Linked DNA regions of Homo sapiens: region 1 is linked to region 2. The links are contacts of gene promoters, found by promoter capture Hi-C in blood cells and fetal thymus (Javierre and others, 2016). All regions are on one chromosome and are shown on one strand. Each heading gives the region's core, a stretch centred on a gene start or on the middle of the fragment in contact. The rest is flanking DNA. Distances are from core to core; before and after follow the strand shown.

Region 1 (3,732 bases), core at 35-2,534, 1.4 Mb before region 2:
CCCTCGCTCTTTCTCCTTTTGTTTCATCCTGTGATCACCCTATGTGAATGGCTTTGAAATTCCATAAATACACCATGCTTTGCTAAACTTCCGTGGTTTGCTCCCCATGCTTGGAGCAGTCTTCTCTCACATCTGCCTCTGCATAATTCCTACATCTCCTGTATGTTTTAGCTCAGTCCTTGTTTCCTCTAGTAGGCCTTCTCAGAACATCCCAGCCCTTGCTTTCAATCTGGATTAATAATTGCTTCTCTCTGTGCTTTCACAGTAGCTTGTGTTTAACCTCTATATTGACACTAATCAAATTATATTGTAATTGTCTGCTTGGTAGAATATTGTTTTGAAATATTAATCCAGATTTTCATCCAACACTCACTTTCCATATATTTTCTATACCCTTTGCCTTTCTTCCACTTAGCAGAATTGCTTTAAGGGAGAGGCAATACTTAAAAAAGAGAACATAATTTTTAGATAAAATTTCCTGAGATTTAGAATTAATAAACAATGAGAAATTCTAGCTCAAAAGGACTCAGGTCATTAACAATAGATTAGGAAGAAAAGATGAGCAGGCAGTCTCTATCAGACTAAAGCTTCTTTGGACTGGGTGAGGGGTTGAGAAGTTAGAGGAGAAAGAGGAGAACCAAGAACCAAGAGGTGGAGTGTCCCTGAGAACTGTGCAAAGACTTTGTGGCCTTTTATATAGAAGGTGTCCTTTTCAAGTCTGTTAGGAAGTTGAGGAGAGAATGACTTAGCATTTTCTGAGGGTGACAGATGTTTTCTGTTTCATGCCTACTGTCTCAATGCTATTGAGTAAGTGGCCACATAGTAACTTCATGTTTTAAAATTAATTTTAAAAAAGCTAAGGGCATATTACTTGAGGGAATAGGGTACAGGCAGATTCCTGCTAAAACCAGTTGGATCTGGTTCTGCCACAAGAGCCTCAGAATAATCAGGAAACATGTGAAGTCTTTCTGGGCTCTTAATTTTTTTTTTTAAGTTTTGAACTGACTTTTATTGATTGTTATATATTTATCTGGGGGCAAAGGACTACAGTCCAAAAAATGCATTTTACAACATTTCAAAGAGGAAATTTTTGTGAGCTCTTTTGAAATGAAACAAATTTCCAATGTTCATTTTAAGTATTTATTAGACATATATATTAAGGAATATTTAGTTTATCAATGATGAGTTTTTTATTGATATTAACTTACACATTTTCCTCTATCACAATGGTTTAAGTTCATGGAGGGTCAGGACTCTATAGTATGTATTTTCATGTATACTGATAAATACTGATAAATTACTGAAATACTGATAAATACTGATAAATACTGATAAATTAGCATTAGAAGGCATTTTGTAAGTATTTGTTGATAATATAACTGGAAATCCCTTAATTTATTATCATTGTTTTCTTTTTTTTTTTTTTTGGTTTCTTAAGTGCTACTTGCTTTGTCTACCCAGGGAGGTTACCCTTCTATTACCAAGTTCAGTTCAGGAAGCTAATTTGACCCATGGGACTCATGTGGCTCTTCCAGGGACCTTCCCCCTTGACTGATTTTCAGTGCAGACTCCTTCCTGGAAATTGCCCTGAGGAACATTTGGAAGAAATTCCATAGAATCAGTGCTGTTAGTACAAGTAGAATGCTACAAGATTGCAAAATTAGTAGTAGGTCTGCTGTGATACAAATAGATTGGTAGCTGGGTGCTTCCCCATGCCTTGAGGCCCATGGCCAAGGAGATCCTGCACGGCATCCTAATCATCACTGCACCAAGCACTGTGCATTAAATGACACCCATTCCATTCACACATCCCATCCACATGTTTTCTCTGTTGACCGCCCTTGCCTCGGGCTATGCCAGTAGGGTGCTAAGTGATCATCAAACCTTAGACTTTTCATTTAGGGACACATGGTCTTCAAGTTGCAGACCTGAAGACCTTTATCTCCCTTAGCAGCTATTCTTGATCCTACAGCTAAGCTTTGTAACTCTGGAACCCAGTCAGTTGGGTCAGTTAGAAAGTTATCGACCTTGAAAGATTACAAGTATTAGAATTCATTCCTGTGCCTAAGTCCAAATTCATGTGTGAGATACTCAAAGCCCTAAATGTGTTCACTCTTCATCTTCAGTTCAAACTCAGTGTTGTACCTAAGATTATAGAAGTGGGAGAAGAAATGGAAATAAGCATCCTAGGATGAAAAATAATATGAATTGAAAGGAGATGAAAAACATTAATCAGACTAAGGCTAAGAAATTCAGGAATATAGTCTCTTAGATATTTATTGTAATCTTCAAGAAATAAAACAAACTCAAAGAACAAAAACCACTTTCTTTATAGAATTCACATACAAACTGAATACCTAATAGAGCACATACCATTTTTACACAATTAATTTCAATAAAGATAATTAAAACTTCACAATGTGAATACACTTCATAGCTTTAAACCCACACAAGAGCTCCTGTGGACACATGAAGAGTCACAATATTTGCTATGCAGCAGTAGTTTTCAACTAAATGTCGGTCACTATATGAAAGCATTAAGCTGTTTTCAATATTTTCTTAAGAAGAGTTCCACAGTGCAGTCACTGAGAAGGGGCCAAATGTGCCTGGTTCCAAAGGAAGATCTTCATCTGTGCATTTCCAATGCCCTTTATGGGAAACATGGAGCTACAGAAAAATCTCTGGGTACACATCTGCCAGGTGGCATTAGGTCGGACAATCTCTCATGGTTTGGTGCACTGGCAAATGTCTAAATCAACTGCCGTAATATGGCATTAAAGCAATTTGCATATTGTGGCTGAGTCTTGAGCTGCTCAGCACAGAGGAATATGATAATGCAACAGCTTGTCTTCCTCACGGAGACTAAAAGGTAGGGAGCTAAACTGGGGTAATTTGAATGGTTTCAAAGGGCCAGTTTGGCTGTCTTAAGAAAACAATGATCTATAGCTGATAGCTTTGTCTCTCTTCCATTCAAAGGAAACATAACTGTGGCCTTTCCCACTTATTTTCCTGGCACAATCTCCTCACTACCTAATTCTTTCCGGAATTATGTTTGACCTCTTCAATGGAGCCCTCTCTGACTCTTCCAGTTCTTACAGGTCCCCCATTCTCTGTGTTCCTATACCCTGACATAACCTAGCATTTAGATTATATCTGGATTTTTCCCCCTTGTTCTCATTAGGGGCAGGAGCCATACCTCTTCCATGTTTGATTCCCACAGCACTGAGCATATGAGGTTCAATAACTATGTGACAACTAACTAAAATTCAACCACACCCTTAAATTATCATTCTAATATTGGCTACCTGCTTCCATTTTTTAAAAAATTTGGCACAAAGTTGTCACTAATCTCCCTATTTTACCCACCTTCACTTGACTTCTTCAGTGGATTTTGAGAGCTAAGAACAAATTTCAGTCTATCACAGTTACATTCAGGCCACATATCACCCACATAGACCAAATCCATTTAATATGATTGGCACATCCTCACATGTCAATCTCCAGCCAAGCACCATAGAGAGAACTGAAGGTTTTATATGATGAACACATGGCCATGGTCATCTAGAACCAACTGTCTTGCATCAATTTTAGTGAATAAGTCATAACTTGTTTTTCTTCCTAAGGGTTTCATGACTTACTCCACTAACTGAATGAAAAGGCAAAGTACAATATTAAAATGAATGCTTTGCCTTAGAAATGGCAAGTAGGAGTTTAAGACGGTTATTCTAATTT
Region 2 (3,490 bases), core at 248-2,747:
GCACTGGATAAAATAAATCTATATCAAGCTATAGACAAAGAAGAGGGCTGGATGCTCACAGCTTGATGCTACACCATGACTCTCCAAGAGGCTCACTGGGCAAAGACTCAGGTTAGTTCTCCTGGCCTTGAGCTGGAGGGTGTTTTTTGTCCAGTAAATAGGGGCTGTGCTACCTCTTACAAAGCAAGCTTTATTGGGTAAATGAATGAATGATGAACCCAAATAAAGATTATTTTGGAGAACTCAGATGTAGACATGGAAAATTTCTTTGCTTTACAAGAGCTCACAAAGATAATTATATTCTATTCGCCTAACACATAGGGGAGCAGAAGTAATGAGCTTTCTTAAATGCTATTTCTCTGTAACACATTGCTGATGTCCTACATTTTACCATCATACACATCTTTTCAGGTAGTCTGTATTTCTATATGAAACATGGAACCCAAACAAATTGTTGCTATGAAGTGATCAGGGTGTAATATATCTTGAAATGGAAGGAAAGCTAGTATAATTCTAATTGTATAGATTTTAATAACTACATAGAGGTTTAATGTTATAATATAGTATATGTATCTTGAAGATCAAAATGTTTTAAGGATTAGTTTAAATATATAATTTTTCAAATTTGTCTTATCACTTCATTTTGTCCATTGTTGCAGAACTCAAGAGTTGTTGCAAATAAATAAATTTTTATAACCTGCATCTTAATAAATCATGCAAAATAGTTGACATTCAGTCATTATACAATTAACATGGACCCAATGAACCTGGTTCTATGAACAATGTCTAGACACAGTAAATGTTTAATGAAATTTGGTTGTTAGAAATTTATATCAGAAAAAAGTATCTATATGGGTTAACTTTAGCAATCATTCTATTCCTTTCGCTTGATCTCTGATGGATTAGAAGTCTATTAAATATCTCTACATTTTGCTTGACACAAGTGCATTGTAATTACAGCCATCAGGCCATCCTTAGCCATTTATTATTTTCATTTACTAAAACAGTCTCTACGATGATGACACCCTGTGGGATTAGGAATCTAATGGAAACAAAAATCTTGAAAAAGTGAAGATTGCAGGGTAAGACCCCTCATCAGAACAGTATCTTAAGAATGAAAAGGTAAGCTAGTGTAGGAAAAGTGAATCCTCAGGGACGCTAAGGAGGGAGCCTTCCTCCCAGCAGTGTTGCCATACCTAGCACCAGCTTTCTTTCATCTTGCTTTTATATCCCCCACTGCATCATCATAGTTATCTAGAGACCTCACCAGGCAGGCTGACGGTCATGTGTGGGTTGCCTAATTACAGGAACCTGAGATTTGACCACTTGGCAGCCAATTTTCTCTTTATGTAGAAAGATCTAATTGTTTATGTAATCATCACCATCATTAATACCTCAGAGATGACCTCATCCAGAAATGCTGGGAACTGGTGGAGTAGGACATGGGCGGAGTCAGTGTGTTCCTTTAAATACCTGTGGTCCCGGTGCAGCCTCCCGTGTCTGAAAGCATTTCTGGAGTGTTTTAGGCCTGTTCACTTTCTCTTACTCACTGTCTATTCACTTGTCCTGTTCACTCGTCTGGAAGATCTCAGCCAGCACCATGACTGACAATGAGCTGTCTGCCTTGGTAGTGGATAATGGGTCAGGGATGTGCAAGGCAGGCTTTGGTGGTGACGATGCCCCCCGGGCTGTGTTCCCCTCCATGATAGGGCGTCCTCGACACCAGGGCGTTATGGTAGGCATGGGCCAGAAGGACTGCTACGTGGGAGATGAGGCTCAGAGCAAGAGAGGCGTCCTGACCCTGAAGTATCCTATCGAGCATGGAGTGGTCACCAACTGGGACGATATGGAAAAGATCTGGTACCACACATTCTACAATGAGCTCCGTGTGGCACCAGATGAGCATCCCATCCTCCTCACCGAGGCACCCCTGAACCCCAAGATCAACCGGGAAAAGATGACTCAGATCATGTTCGAGGCTTTCAACACACCAGCCATGTATGTCGCCATCCAGGCTGTGCTGTCCCTCTATGCCTCAGGACGGACCACAGGCATCGTGATGGATTCTGGGGATGGGGTCACTCACATCGTGCCCATCTATGAAGGTTATGCCCTGCCTCATGCCATTCTACGCCTGGATCTGGCAGGGAGAGACCTGACTGATTACCTCATGAAGATCCTGACAGAGCGAGGCTATAACTTCACCACCACTGCTGAGCGGGAGATTGTGCGAGATGTCAAAGAGAAGCTGTGCTACGTAGCCCTGGACTTTGAGCAGGAGATGGTCAGGGCAGCCGCATCCTCCTCACCGGAACGGAGCTATGAACTTCCTGATGGGCAGGTGATCACCATTGGGAATGAACGCTTCCGATGCCCTGAAGCCATTTTCCAGCCTTCCTTTCTGGGCATTGAGTCCAGTGGGATCCATGAGACAACCTTCAACTCTATCATGAAGTGCGATGTGGATATTCGCAAGGATCTCTATGCCAACACCGTGTTATCTGGAGGGAGCACCATGTACCCAGGCATTGCTGACAGGATGCAGAAAGAAATCATAACCCTGGCACCCAGCACCATGAAAATCAAGATCATAGCTCCCCCAGAGCGGAAGTATTCTGTTTGGATTGGGGGCTCCATCCTTGCCAGCCTGTCCACATTCCAGCAGATGTGGATCAGTAAGCAGGAATATGATGAGGCTGGTCCTCCTATCGTTCACAGAAAATGTTTCTGAATGGGCTTCCATATTAGTGGGCTTACATTTTCCCTTTTCCTAGGTCACAGTGATGGTACTGCTTTTATCCGCTTTCAGTAGAATCGAGGTAAATACGTCACTCTTCCTAGTGTAAACCAGCAAACCCATCTCTCCATCCAAGTAACCTGGGCTCTTACCCAGATAACCACATCCGGTTCTCCATCAAGTGAAGGTGAATTCTAATACCATATTCCTTTTTCTTTGCCTATACTGTTCAAAGATAGGTAGGCCAGCTTAAATACATATAAGTGACAAGGAGTAAAATCACGAGAAATGTCATTTCAGAATGGATAACTATAATTATCAAGCTTTAAAACTTAGTTCTCGCTAAAATATTTAACAAGAACAGGCTGTATAAACTTGTTTAAAAAAAAAAGGTGCGTATGCATTTAGCAGCCGTGTCTTACTAGTTAAGTATCTTTGTTTTGTTTACTTCTTTGTATGGAGATAATGAATTATAAAGTTCAATAATATCCATATATACATAAGCACCAGGGAAATAAAATATATTGTGAAATATGCTGATGTATCTAGCTATCTGAACAGCTAATGTGAATTTCTTTACTCCCAAAAGTCATCGTTGTACTAGGTACATATTTTAATTGTTTCCCTTACTAAATAAGCATAATGAGACAGCCACCATTCCATTAATGTTTATAAATCATCTAAATTTTCAGCTCATAGTGGAGTTCTGCTGGTCAAATTATATTTTAATATCTTTCTTACTGAACCTTCTCA

Evidence for each region. The method cuts DNA at HindIII sites, captures the fragments that hold promoters and counts their contacts. A CHiCAGO score of 5 or more calls a contact.
Region 1: a fragment that was not itself captured here is called in contact with the fragment with the promoter of ACTBL2 in region 2 in 1 of 17 cell types (M2 macrophages); the score reaches 6.9 in M2 macrophages.

The regions. Positions count from the first base shown.
Region 1 is chr5:58,857,914-58,861,645 of GRCh38, reverse strand. RAB3C (RAB3C, member RAS oncogene family) reads right to left here. Exons shown (of 5, transcript NM_138453.4): 5 at 2,252-3,732. Among named protein-coding and RNA genes, the nearest start is that of PDE4D-AS1, 180 kb to the left of the region's middle. The HindIII fragment of the contact is 1,390 bases long and covers 590-1,979 here.
Region 2 is chr5:57,480,818-57,484,307 of GRCh38, reverse strand. ACTBL2 (actin beta like 2) reads left to right here and starts at 1,497. Exons shown (of 1, transcript NM_001017992.4): 1 at 1,497-3,490. The coding sequence starts at 1,601. The coding sequence ends at 2,731. All of the region lies in intron 1 of RMEL3 (enriched in melanoma 3), which reads right to left. The HindIII fragment of the contact is 2,872 bases long and covers 191-3,062 here.